Linked DNA regions of Homo sapiens: region 1 is linked to region 2. Evidence: promoter capture Hi-C in 16 types of primary human blood cells and fetal thymus (Javierre and others, 2016). All regions are on one chromosome and are shown on one strand. Each heading gives the region's core, a stretch centred on a gene start or on the middle of the fragment in contact. The rest is flanking DNA. Distances are from core to core; before and after follow the strand shown.

The links. The method cuts DNA at HindIII sites, captures the fragments that hold promoters and counts their contacts. A CHiCAGO score of 5 or more calls a contact.
Region 1: a contact is called between a fragment that was not itself captured here and the fragment with the promoter of EML4 in region 2, in 1 of 17 cell types (M1 macrophages). The highest score is 5.2, in M1 macrophages.

What each region holds. Positions count from the first base shown.
Region 1 is chr2:40,476,394-40,483,405 of GRCh38, reverse strand. It overlaps a transcript of SLC8A1 not described here. Among named protein-coding and RNA genes, the nearest start is that of SLC8A1, 28 kb to the right of the region's middle. The HindIII fragment of the contact is 5,876 bases long and covers 1,055-6,930 here.
Region 2 is chr2:42,166,076-42,173,496 of GRCh38, reverse strand. It overlaps EML4 (EMAP like 4), which reads right to left and starts at 4,144. Exons shown (of 23, transcript NM_019063.5): 1 at 3,861-4,144. The coding sequence starts at 3,885. It overlaps EML4-AS1 (EML4 antisense RNA 1), which reads left to right and starts at 3,266. Exons shown (of 4, transcript NR_110584.1): 1 at 3,266-3,527. RefSeq lists silencers at 4,133-4,192, 4,293-4,342 and enhancers at 3,758-4,410, 4,423-4,562. The HindIII fragment of the contact is 2,496 bases long and covers 2,104-4,599 here.

The DNA of each region.
Region 1 (7,012 bases), core at 2,743-5,242, 1.7 Mb after region 2:
CCCACCCTCTCCCTCTACTCACACCCTTGGTGTATTAGATTATAAGCTTCTGGGGGCCAGATGTGTATCTTCTTTATCTTTTAATCACCTAGAGACTTCATCAATTATTTATCATATATATATATATTTTTTAACATATATATTTTCAGTGATTGTGAATTTTAAATTTAGATTTTAAAATATAAAATACATAAATACATAGGGTAATTTAATAACTAATACATAAATGTTCAGCTAATTATTGTATATTTTTATTTATTGTCTTCAGCACTTTAGTTCATTCATTAAGAGTGCTAACTGTGGGCCGGGCACGATGGCTTATGCCTGTAATCCCAGCCCTTTGGGAGCCCGAGGCGGGCGGATCACGAGGTGAGGAGATTGAGACCATCCTGGCTAACACGGTGAAACCCCGTCTCTACTAAAAATGCAAAAAAGAAAAAAAAAAAAAAAAGCCGGGCGTGGTGGCGGGCGCCTGTAGTCCCAGCTACTCGGGAGGCTGAGGCGGGAGAATGGCGTGAACCCGGGAGGCGGAGCTTGCAGTGAGCCGAGATCGCGCCACTGCACTCCAACCTGGGCTACAGAGCGAGATTCCGTCTCAAAAAAAAAAAAAAAAAAAGTGCTAACTGTGGCTTCTGTCATAGAAATAAGGAAAAACATTGTCTCTCTGGGTTTCAGAAAACAGGAAGTGTCTATAAGTGGCATTACGTTGTCATGGCACAAAGAGCAAAGACTGGAGACAGGCTGTCTGGATTCAAATCCCCACTCTGCCACTTACCAGCTGTGTGACCACAGGCAAGTTGCTTAAAGTCTCCATTCCTTCGTTTCTTCATCCCATAAAATAGAAATAATAACAGGGATGAATTGTCATCGGTGGTACTCAGCAGTGCATATAATATGAAGCTTATGCTTCAGGGACCCTAAAGACATGAGTTCCTTCTCAGGCCCTCAGAGAAGCCCTAGCAGTACATTCACATGGCCATATGCTTGGCAAAATTTACAAATACAAGATTTTTAAACTTTGTTTTCTTAATGTAGGCCCCATATTGTATAAGCTTCAACCCTTACAAAACCCAAAGCCTCCCCTGGCAGTTCTGCACTGAGTCAGAGGCTATAAATGACCCTGCAATGTGTGAAAAGTTAATTAGAAAGACTTTAAGGCAGTAGTGCTCCCTCTGGAGAGAGTGGCCCAACTAAACCAAAGACATCTGGGACATTCGTTTTTAAAATGTAGAAACTTGGTGTAGCTATAGTCAACAATATCTTATTGCACGCTTAAAAGTTTGTTAAGAGGATCAATTTCATATTAAGCATTCTTACCACAATAAAATATGTATTTTAAAAAAATGCAGGAGCTTGGGACCTTTACCTCCAGAAAGAGAATCTTTTGGGACAGGTTCTACAAATCTCTGTTTTTATCAAGCCTCTCAAATGATTGTAATGTGCCTTAAAACTTGAACTATTCTCTAATATCTCTTCCATCTCTGAAATTCAAATTTTGATCTATATAATCCTGACTCAAAAATTACCAACTAAAAGGGTATAGAAGAATTGGAAACCTAACTTCATTTTGCAGAATTTGTCCAGGGAAAGGAATGTTCTGAACTGTTAAAGAGACAGAAACGATGGAGACATGAAGAACTGGCATCTCACTTTTCAGCATGTAAAAACAGCTTGTCTGAAAGAGTTAAGACTTAGAAATCATTACTTTTCCGTTGGTGTATTTTCAGGAATAAAAAATTATGATTCCACTTTCTCCCCCTACTCACAAGCCTAGTGGTAGAGATTATGATAATTCTATTCAGTATAAGACTGTATTAGCCAGATCGAACTATGGTTCTTACAGAGAAAGAAGAAGGATCTAACAGTTATCAGACATCCTACTAGAAGCTAAAAAATCTGGTTGCATTCTTACAACAGTTCTGTAAGAAAAGTGACACTCTTATTTTTATAAACAAGAAAACTAAAGATCAAGCAGACTAAATAATTTTGCATAAAATCACACAGCTAACATGTGACAGGAATTTAAAGCCAGGTATGGCTGAATTCAATGTCTCTTTTGTCTTCTTTAACACTGTGCTGCTTTCAAATAAATATGGCATTAATTTGTGTGTGAGGTGATATAAAAAGCGTGAACCTTAGAAAGCTATAGTAAGATATGCCACAGAACTAATTAATCACCTTTTTTATATCCATTCCTCCCTATGGTAAACTATGTTCTTTAAAATACTATGGTGTATGAGCAAGTGTGCACATGGATGCACAAACATACACACACACACTCTTACACATAAACACACACAAGAAAATATGCTTTCTTTTGTAAAATGACTTTGCGACTGATGCCCTGTTTTTCCATACAGTTACATCTAAGGTCAAATAATATACTCCTCTCTTCTTCTCCCACATTAAAGGATATCATTATAATTAAAAGGTTGTGGTTATGATCTTTTATATTCTTAAGTATTTGTGTTTAAACAGCAGTGCGATTTTTGGCTACTACGAATCTCTTCAAAAAATAAGTTGGGTTGTGTTTGTAAGTCAGTGGCTGCTGGTCTCAACTGATGCAGTGACTCAGAATTAGCCTGTATAACGTCGTGGTCTTCATCTTGTAGCAGATTAGTGAGCTCATTCATTCTCGACAATATGTGGACTGGGAGGAGACTCATGAAATTTCTAGAGCACTTGACATGCCCAGCACAACTTGTTAAATTATGTCCTTGAGTCCTTTCCACTCCAACAAGAAATTTTGGTCAGGATTCAGCTGATACACTCAACCTCCTTAATCTAAGCAAAGTTAGGGCAGTGTCTTAGTCCATTTAAGATGTTATAACAAAAATCCCATAAACTGGCTGCCTTATCAACAATCAAAACTTATTCCTCACAGTTCTAAAGGCTGGAAATCCAATATCAAAATGCCAGCAAACTCCGTATCTGATGAGAACCTGCTTTCTGGTTTGTAGAGGGTGCCTTCTTTCTGTGTCCACACATGATGCAAGGGGTGAGAGTCTCTCTGGGACTTTTTTTCATAAGGACACTAATCCCTTTAATGAAGACAGAGCCCTCATGATCTCCCAAAGTCACACCTCCTCATACATCACCATGGGGGTTAAGATTTCAACATATGAATTTTAGAGGGAACAAATATTCAGACCATAGTAGACAGCTTAATCTTTGATGCAATAAGTAGTTCACATTTGGGGAAGAGAGCAACTTTTGCCTTCCTCTTTCAATGTTTCATGAGGTTTTGGGGTTTAGTTCTGAAGATTAAATGTTTCTGGCCTCTCTACTGGCACCAGAAAAAATCAGTATCTAATTTTTAAAAAAAAACAATAAACGTGCACTGTTTCCAGTTTTACAGTTTTTTCTTGACCTGTGTTAGTCCCATCCTGCAGTAAAATCAAGTCACTGTGGAAACCTTATCATAGGTCCTCAGTTAGTTTTCATAACTATATCAACAGACTGTGGCGTCAGGAAGAAATTACCCTGGTACATTAATTACTGGCCCATGGAATGGGAGCTGAGGGTAGGCAACTGCACAGCTAGTAAGTGGATCACTATGAAGGGACAAACAATGCAAGGGATACTAACTGGGCTTATATTTTTCTCCCAATATTAATGGTTTTTTAATTGTTTTTCACAAATCCAGGAATGTTAAGATGCCAAAGTACCTTGTTGCCGAAGCTGAGATGGAAACACTCATTGTCAATACTTTGGTACTTACCTTCCCCAGTTAGAGATAAAACCGGTATTTTAACAGATAGGAGCATGAAAAGCTCACTTACCACCCCTGAAATATTTTCTCTTTCTAATCAAGATAAGAAACTTCTGTGTTTCCTCATCTATAGAATATATAAATACCTACTACTATTATGTCCAAATGAGAATATCTTGAGAGAGAAAGTAATATCCAACCAGATGACCAAGATATAAATTGTTATGAGCTTAAAAAAATGTTTATTTTTTGCCCAAACCAGAGAAAATGCATGATCAGAAAATGAACTGCAAATGAAGAATGTGGGTTCAAGCTCTAGTAGAACAATTAATTAACTGTGACTATGCTAAAATATAAAATAATTAGACAAAGACAGTAATTTTAAATTTAGAAGTTGAAGTTACATACAAAAGATACAAATTTTGACAGCTCTTAAATATTTATTTGAAAAAGATACTAATTTAAAATTGAATTTCCACCAAAAAGCTCCAACATTCAGTCAAAAATATGTTAACTGTTTATTCGACAACAGTCACATGTCTAAATCTTTGTACATTCTGAATTAATGGTGTGAATTGGTGAAATTTATACGTTCTCCTGAAGTTTAAAATTAGGTGGTTGAGGCCGGGCGTGGTGGCTCACGCCTGTAATCCCAGCACTTTGGGAGGTCGAGGCAGGCGGATCACCTGCGATCAGGAGTTTGAGACTATCCTGGCCAACATGGTGAAACCCCGTCTCTACTAAAAATACAAAAATTAGCTGGGCGTGGTGGCGGGCGCCTATAATCCTAGCTACTTGGGAGGCTGAGGCATGAGAATTGCTTGAACCCAGGAGGCGGAGGTTGCAGTGAGCTGGGACTGCGCCATTGCACTCCAGCCTGGGCAACAAGAGCGAAACTCTGTCTAAAAAAAAAAAAAAACAAACAAATTAGGTGGTTGAAAATGAAATGTAACATCCAGGGAAATTGATATAAATTTCCTTCAGAAAGTCTATCAAAGTATAAAAGTCAAATTAAAAACTTAGGTCTATGAGAGATTTTGGAACTCATCAGATATTGATTTTTCAGAAGGGAGAGAGAAATACACTCATATTTATAGAATATTTTACTGAAAAAAACTCAGTGAAAAAACTACCTGAGCTTTTTACCAAAGAAAATCATAGACTTTTAAATGGACAGCACATTTGACTAGCTAACTCATGTTGCTTTAAATAGTTATTTTTTAAATATTTGGGTTTGTAGATACAAAAATGATTGCATATTGCAATTTGTTAGGACCTTTAGATCTGTAAAGGTCATATTGAGTTTAACCTGCAAACAGGACACAAAAGACACATGGTTCAGCCCAATACTCTGCTAATTAAGGCTCAAATAACAGTTGTCTCACCATGACAGGTAGAACTGCCTTAAACAAGTAACTTGTTTGGTTTTTCAGAAAAATGGTAATGGACTCTGATTGTGTGTGAGGGCGGGTGGGTGTATCAGCTTGTGTGGAGATATCAATCAGGAAAACTGGGTGAACAAGGGTTTTATCATCCCCAGCCAAGGCATAGCTGAGTATTTTCAGAAAACAGAATAGAGATATTAGAGAACAGGAAGAAAAAGAAAAAAAGAAAGTAAAACAGCTCTTCAGAAACTGTATTACTGACTTTCACAGTTTGATGTCAAAACCTATAGCCAAAGGAGGCAGACTAGAATAATAAAAGTGCCATTTATTTATACAGTACCTTTTTCTGAGAAGTTCTTGATACATTATGGTCATCTGGTTATTCCCTGAGCTTCAGTCCAAATAGCTCCTAAAAAGTACCAAGTCACAACTATTCTGGAAAGTAAGCCACATCAAGCTATGCTAACTAAGAGGTGGCTGGAAACTTGGTTATTCAATGTCTTTGCATTCATTCCCCATGTTGGTCAAATCTCCCCCTACACACACGTGCACACACACATACACACTACGCACAGGCACACACACTCATATAACTCACACAAAAACACACTCATCTTTATTTAAATTCAGTAGTTCAACTTAAAGGAAAATTACTCATGTGGCTTACGTGTACAAAGTGGAGAAAAATGCTGTGAAGTTCATCTTCAGCCAGAGGAAGGAAAACTTTCTAAGCCAAACCTCTGATTGTCTTCCTTCCGCAAAACATCAAGAGTCTTTGGCATTTGGGTGGTGCTTGAAAAGTTGAGGGTTCGTATCTAAGACATTGTTTAAGTGACAATAAATTATCTTCTTTTCAACCGTGTAGGACAAAGAAATAGGGAGGGGGCTGGGAGAAGGAGTAGGTGGATCATTTTACAGACAAATAACCAGAAGCACATAGGATTGAACTGATTTACTCACATGTGTTCAGAAGGTTCTAGAAATAGGGAGCTGCAACACTTCAGCTCTCAATCCATGACTACAACACAAGGTTTTCTCTCTTGTAAGAGAAACAGTGTTTTCTTCAGATATCAGATACCATGGTAGTTCAGACTACTAAAAATAAACTGAAAAAGATCACGTTGCCCAGGAAATTTATTATTTAATGGACTTTCTGTTTCTGTTTTCAGAAAATAGTATTAAATGTTTTTAAACATTTAACTTGACAAATAATGCATGACATTGTCGTGGACAGTATTATGTTTGCTATAGGAAAAATGCACCCACAAAACAATAATTCCTGTATTTTCCAGAACATCCTCCCAAAAAAAATTAGAGAAAATCCAATAACTCTTATTCATTGATTTACTGATTCACTCACTGCTTCAAAAATATGCAGTAGGCATTAAATTTGATGCCATAAATAAAGGAAAGAACAAGACTCACTATTGAAAGTTGATTGTATCAGAAAAATCTGAAAGGATGATCACTCCTCCTAGATACTCTGCCAATGGCTTTTTGCACTCTCATAAAATTGGAATGACTTCCTATGGTGTTCAAGGCCCTATATGATCTATCCCTGAGCTATGCCACCCTCCTTTACTTCTAAATCTCTACCATGTATTTGGCACTAACCACACTTGCTCCCACTATTTCCTCTAAAGCAAATAGGTCAAGTTTCTTCTGACCTCAGGAAATTACTATTTTCCATGACCTCTGCCCAGACTAATCTTGTCCCATAATGGACTCTCCCTTACTTTATTAAGGTCTCTGGTCAAATGTGATCTGCTCAATGACGCCTTCACTAAGCACCTTACCTAAACATCCTCTCAGTCATTCTATTTCCCCAAAGCTTGCTTTTCTTTTTTATATGCTTTATTAGTATCTAACATTAGAAATATATCTTTGTTTATTTTCAGTCTTTCCCAGCTGAAGG
Region 2 (7,421 bases), core at 2,895-5,394:
CATAAGAACCACCAAGCATAGTGCTAGCCCATGTTCGATGTTAATCCATACATATGTTGAAAAACACTCTAGCTAACTCATGTTGAAGATGCTCTACTAACCATTTAAGAGTTACTACTCATGTCTGGTTACACAACTTGAGTCTATCTTGAACTCTTCAAGAGGCAACCAATAAAAAAAGTTTAAAAAAAAAACCTCTCCAAATATTACATGAAAAACATTTTCATGTAAATAAGGAATGCTTTAGATTAATATGTGAAAATCATATACAGCATTGTTCCTTTAAGAAAGCAAGACTATTATCTGTGATGAGAAATCACAGTTCTAACAATGTGATGTTAAAAAGACTAATTTCTGAATAGTCCATAAGTTGAAGCATACTGCTATACTTGTTCACATTTACAACCTGTACCCAGAATGTTGTTTCTTATAGATCCTAATCCAACAATTTCATTCACTATGATTTTTCTTAGGGGGAAGAAGATTTTAAGTTTTGTTGTTTAACTTTTGAGGCAGAAAAATTTAAAGCTGACTGGTTAGGTATAAGGTTTCTTTCAAGTGAAAACAGACTAATCTCTAGGTTAATTCCAAGATAAAAGTCTTAAAATTAAACCTCTATTATGAAAGAGATTCTAAAAAGATTAAGCATGAAATGCACCCAATCCCTGCCTTATAAAAAATCGGTAAAAGCTGTATGAATAGCTTCCCACTTTTGCACATAGACCTGAGATTTAATATACATACAGTATATACATTTTGCACATGGGTATCTATATGTAGTGATTTAGAGGCAACACATCAAGGTAATTGAGTACTTTTCTCTCCTAAGTTTAAAAAAAAAAAGGTTTCTAAAGTGCTGCCTTAAGTTACCATAATTTGTGGATTAAAAGATATATTAATAATACCTAAGGGAAATTCCAGAGTACAAGCACCTGCCAGCCAAGTTGCCTGAAATTCATCAGCTGCGGAGATTAAAAGAATTCTTCACTTGTTTTTTATGTAAAACAAAGATAACATAATCAGTACCATGTAACTTCAATGTGGCATTTATAAAATGGCCAATCACTTATCATTCCTATGATTTAAAAAACCACTACCTAGTCTTAATTGCCATTAGACATCTTATAAAATGCACATAACACAGTGGATTTCTTATCTAAACATGCAACAATCAAGGGTACAGTTTGAATTTTAAGTTTTCACTTCACAAAATGAGTCACCATAGGATTCTCTGAAATAATCTCTTCTCTAAAATTATTCTGTTTATAAAGTACTCAATTTTTCTGCTTATAAAAATGTAGTTTTTTCACCATTTTTCAAGAATCTATCTAATATGTAAAAGGAAATACACACATACTTCCTTGAGAATAAATGCTTTCAATAGTTGTAACCCCAGAAGAACTTCACGTTTTGACTTCTTGTTTAAAAAAAAAAAAAGTTTTTAAACACCTACTAGAGTAGAAGTGCTTGCCTTTATATTCATGGCTCTCCTGATGGTAAAATAAAGATCAATGTAACTCTAAGCTCTAGGCTAATTAACTGCAGAGAACAGAAACAAGCAATTTGGCAAGAGCTGAGCAAAGCTCCGCTTAAAGACTACCAGTAAAATATACCAGCACTACTCCTCCCCCACCCCTTTAAGGTTTCAATTAAGATGGGGCCTAGTTTTACTCTTGCAAGGGGGACAGAAAGAGAAAGCACAGAGCTCCCACTGAGAAGTATCTTCATCAAGAACAGCTCCAGAAATACTGCCAGGAACCATTTCCTTCCCTCTCTGCAGATGCAGGTTCCTCTGATAGGCATATCTCCTCTGCTCCTGATTAACACCATATCTAAAGGAAAGTCTCATCACATACCACCCAAAGCATGGCATCAAATGAATTTTTTAAATCCAACATTAGGGTCAACAATGACGCTCTTTATGAAAAGTGTGAGCCCCAACTGCAATTCATCTTCATCTCTCGGTCTTTTGTATCACTTGCCTCATAAACTGGTTAAGAAAGAAGAAAGCTATTACAAAGCATAATCAATGTTTGAAAATAAACATTAAGTGCCCCAACTGGTGAGAAAGACTCCTCCTAAACACTTACAGAAGATGAAGCTTTAACAAGCCCTCCAGAAATCTTTAGAGCCAACACGAAAGAAGTTAAAGTGATCTCACCACTCCTACAGGATGAGGACCCAATACAGTATAAAGATAGCACAGCTCTCCACAACATCCCCTAAGAAGACACTCAATTTTTACTTTAGTATAAGATCAGCCCTTCAGCGGACATATAGGACAAGTTTTTCGGTCCAACACTTACTGTGAATAAACCAACGCATGGAGCTAAAAAAGAACCAGGGAAAAATGGATGTCTCTCTAAAAAGAGCCCAACCTAAGTAAGGAATTACAAGACATCAAAGGTTAGATAATGGACAACAGGTGCCTTTGAGGAGGAAAGAGTAACACAACACTCAGTTGCCTCCTATTTTAGGATTTCCACTCTGAAAGCAATATAACGACAATTTTTTCTGCCCAAGAAAAAGGGAAGGCCAAAATTATAGGTTTTACTATTTAATATCTATAATAGGCCCATTGCTCTTTGACTTACTTTTTTACTTTAGATTTTAAAAATCCATCTCATCTCGATATTATCTGGATATAGTACGGCCTATGGCCAGACTGCTCACTGATCAGTGAACATTAACCAAGTAGAGACTTATTATCAAGAAATGTAAAAGAAAGGCGTCTGAATACAAGCTACCTGCACATAAAAAACTCAAAATACAGTTCCAGCAGTAGGTATCACACAACTGCGTTATCAGCCAAAGCTGAAACTGTTTCTCTCACCATTCTAACAGTTGAACTTAATCTTTTACTAGATTTCAATGGCCTCGAAGAATAGTAATTCCAGATTCAGCTTCTAGGGCAGCGAATACTAGCCTGGAGTTTTGATTTTCCTAGCCAGAAGATTACCTTCATCTGGTGAAAGGAACACTGAAAAGGCACTTCAGCCTATTTAATAACCTCTTCCCTTTCTCCATTCCACAAAGACAACATCTTCCAAAAATGGAGAATCCTTTCCTTCCCTGATAGAGGCCCCCTTTCCTATTGATTCATTGGGCAGAATCACTTCTCCCCAGCATGTATGCAGAACCAGAAAACACTTCTGCTTTCACTCTTAAAGAGGGTCCCCCAACACAGATGCACCTCTTCCTTTCCTGCATTAAGCAAATGATGCTCCGATGCTTCTAGGTCTCTCCACCACTGCAAAATGCTCAGAGAAGTGGAGGGATTGAAAAGGAAGTTGCCTACTACTCTGAAGGATACTGGAAAGTCGCCTTCAAATCTAAAGTGAAGACTTGGGGGCGGGGGATGCCCCCTTCCTGAAGAGGGAATGAGGGTCCCTCCCCTAAAAAGGAGCCTCTGTTCGGGTGAAGGCGATCCCCACCCTGAAAGAGAGGCGTGTATGTGGAAAGGTGGTGGAAGGTTGTACCCTGAAGAGGAGCCTGGATTTGAAGAAATGTCCCAACTCTGAAGGGGGGTAAGTGGAGGGAGCCGTGAGTGTACGGGGAGGGGTGTGCCAGCTATCGGGGGGCCTGAGAAGGAAGGGGTTCCCACTTTGGGGGAACGAGGGCCCCGCACTGAAAGGGGCTCCGGGAGGAAAGGAGGGTCTGACACAGAGGAGAGTTGGACATGGGGGAGGGGCCCTCAGTCCACCGGAGTCCGCGGAGGGGCGGCAGCCTCGAAGGGAACATGTGCAGTGGAGCCGCTGCCACCCCGAGGGGCAGGCGGGAGGGCAGGGCCTGGGCTGTGTGCGGAAGGAAAAAAGTTCCTACCCTTCGCAGAAGACGCAGGACTCCCCAGCCGTACTCACCGAGACTGCCGGCGAAACCGTCCATCTTGCGGGGAAAGCGCCGGGCTCCGGGCTTAGAGGGGCGGGCACTTCATTCAGCGGACCGACAGAGTGGCCGACGCTGAGCCTGACCCGCTCGTTCTCTAGGTCGCCCGGCTCGGCTACCGGCTCCCGCCTCCGTCGTCCGTCCGTTCGCCCTGGGGTAGTAAGCCGCGGCCGCCCGAACCACTTCCCCGTCACGTTGAGAGCCGCGCCGCTCAGCCGCCTGCCCGGCCTCCCTCCCAGGCAGCAGCCGCGAGCGCCGCGCCGCGCCGCGCCCCGCCCCGCCCCCGCGCCCGCGCGCAGCAGTAGCCCCGCCCCGCGCACGCCGTCACACTTCCGACTCCGCCTCCCACGTGACGCCACGGAGGCGGGGTCTTGCCAGCCCCGCCCTCTCACCTTGCCTCGGCCTCGGCGTTTGTCCGCCTCGCGCCAGGCTGGTGGTTGCGCCTGCGCGGTAGGCCTGCTGAAGGCTGGGGACCACGGTTTGGAAGCTGGTTCCAAACAGGTGGGGATAAGGCATAGACTCTGGCCTGCGATACTCTGATGCATGAAGGATCCTCTCCCTATGTGGCCCCTGGGAAGCCCGCAGAGCCAAGACTGGACCCCCGTGACGGGAGATGACCACCACGTGGGTCCTACAAGGACACTAAAGAAGCAACCAAGAGGGAGAGGTTCTCCCTCTCCCCCAATAGGGTGGGGGACAAATAGGGGCGAAGCTTCTTGACTAGCTCGATACCACCACTGCCACAGCCGCAGGGCCCGGGACAGATCAGAAGCAAGGAATTTTAGTGCTGGACATGACCCAAAAGTTCATCTTGTCTAACCCTTCTTATGAAGAAAAACACAGAGCCTTAGAGAGGACAACCTGCCCAAGGTCATCGAACCTAGTAGAAGCAAAAACTCAGCCTTCCTTACTCTCCCTAGCGTTCTGTCGTCTAGGGGTGCAAAACGACCATATATGGCAGGCTATAGGATGGCCTGCTAGGGAACCATAATAAGGGTTATTTCAAATGAAGTAACACTGAGTTCTAGGCCCAACTCCGTATGACTCAAGAGTGTCAAATCACCTAATTTATTTAGGCGTCACTTTATTCATTTGCAAATTGGTTGTCTGGACATGTAACCAAAACATGTAAATATACATAGCGTTCATATTCTTCCTCCCTTCCCCAACACGATTTCCCATACTTCTAAAGACTTTCTCATGGTTTGTCAAGTCCCTCCTGGGGCTCAGTTGTGCAGATTAGAGTAAGAGAGAGAAGAGCTGTAAGGTACTGAAGAACTGAATTGATCTATACATAATAAATTGATAAATACATAATAAAAAGCTGAGTTAGGGGAAAACAGAGTCCTACTACACAGAGTTGCAGGAGAGAGGGACAAACAAGAAGGGAGACAAGAAATATGTAATGATGAGAGAGACTTAGAGGAATTAAATGATTGAAAGGATTGTTAAACCTTCTTGGGGTATACGTCTCCCTTTGTTGCCTCTTTAAAAATCTTCCCTAAAAATGTAAATTACTTTGCATTTCTTATTTGGATATAAGACCTGTTTCTGAATACCATACTATATGGAGACTGGCCATAACGCAGCCAAGATAAATTCAGGTTACAGACTAAACGGTGTCTAAAATTTCCTTCTCTTCAAACTTAAATGATTTACCCAATGTTCCTTCTGCTATGGGCATTTTCATATGCATAAGTTTCTATTAAGCCTAAGTAAATGTTTGAGAAGTTCTCAATTCTGACAGCTGTTCCTTTGTGTCTTCAGGCCACACTCTCTGCCTTAGGTCGATTAAAAGAATAAGAACTTGGCATATTGGTATACATATGTTTTATGGTCCAGACCTGGAAGTGTGTACCTCCCTTTTGTCCACATTCCACTGGCCAGAACTTGGTCACATGACTGCAAGGGAGGCTAGGAATGTAGTCTGTGTATCCAGAAGGAAAAGAGACATATTTTGGTAACAGCTCTCTGGTTTCTGCCACACTCCCCTTCGTGGCATTCATCAGAGTTAAAATTTTTCATTTGCTTGAATGATTTATTCAATAAGCATCTCATTCATTATACTGTATACTACAAGGAAAGCTGTTAAAATGTAGGAGAGTTAGTACATCCCAGCAGTTAAGAGTGCAGACTCTGGAATCATGCTGCCCAGATTCACATCCCAACTCATCATGTACTAGCTATGAAACACTGGACAAATTACCTAACCTCTCTGTGCCTCCATTTTATTGACTGCAAAATGGAGATGATAACACTTCTACTTCTTAGAGTTTTTGAGAGGATGCTATGAGGTAATATATGTAAAGCACTTAAAACAGGGCACAATATGTTATAAGTGCTCAGTAGGTATTAGCTGCTCTTATTTTGTACCTGTTTTTGCTCTCTATTATATACTTAGTGCATATTACAGAACAGCTTTTTGATAAATATTTATTGAATAATGAACAAACATAGAAGAATTCTGAAAACTAGTCAATCTGAATACATTGTTTCAACAACCAGTGCCTGAGTGTTTTAAAGCAGCCAGAATTTTTGTTTTATATTTATCAAAGTACATCTTGCAATCTAAGCCTCTAATACTACTATGATAAAATAAAATTTAACATACATCTTTCAAAAGTGAAACCATAGCTGAACATTATCAAACACACACACAAATACTAAGGTTCTAAACAGTTACGAATTACTGGAGGGTTATTTTGGTTATTCACCTTAACAAAGGATTTATCTTTAGATTATTTTCAATGTGGAGTTCCATTGCCCCTTTGAGCTCCTTAAGTATAACTTAATTCAGGCAAATGCAAAATATGTGCCGTTTTTCAGGATCCCAGTTATTGGAAAAGGCTAAATATAGCTGTATCAAATAATGAAAACTTAGAACATTCCCTTTATGGTTTTGGTTTTTGAAACAGGGTCTCACTCTGTTGCCCAGGCTGGAGTGCAGTGGCACGATCTCAGCTCACGGCAACCTCCGCTTCCCCGGGTTCAAGCAATTAGCATGCCTCAGCCTCCCAAGTAGCTGGGATTACAGTTGTGCACCACCATGCCCAGCTAATTTTTGTATTTTTAGTAGAGACAGGGTTTGGCCATGTTGCCCAGGCTGGTCTCGAACTCCTCACCTCAAGTGATTCGCCTAGCCTTGGCCTCCTGAAGTGCTGGGATTACAGGCTTCAGCCACCATGCCTGGCCAGAACATTCTCTTTATACATCGAATCTTGACTCTGCATACTTACCTTCCCCTCTATGTCAAGGTTAGTATGTTGTGGGAGGAGTTTCAGAATACTTGTGAAGATACATTGTCAAAGTCTTGACCTAACGTTTGAAGAAAAATAAGATTCCTATTCAATTTCTTTGTTTTACTCTCACTAGCTAGATGATCTTGAAAAGTAACTATAAACTGTTTTTGTCTGCTTGCTTTTCTCTCCCGCAGACATTTTAAAATAAATGCCAAGGAAAATTAAGGGTTTTTTTTAAGTATGCTGTGTCTTCAGTTCCTTTTATTTCATTATTTGAATGTTATTTAAAAAATGAAA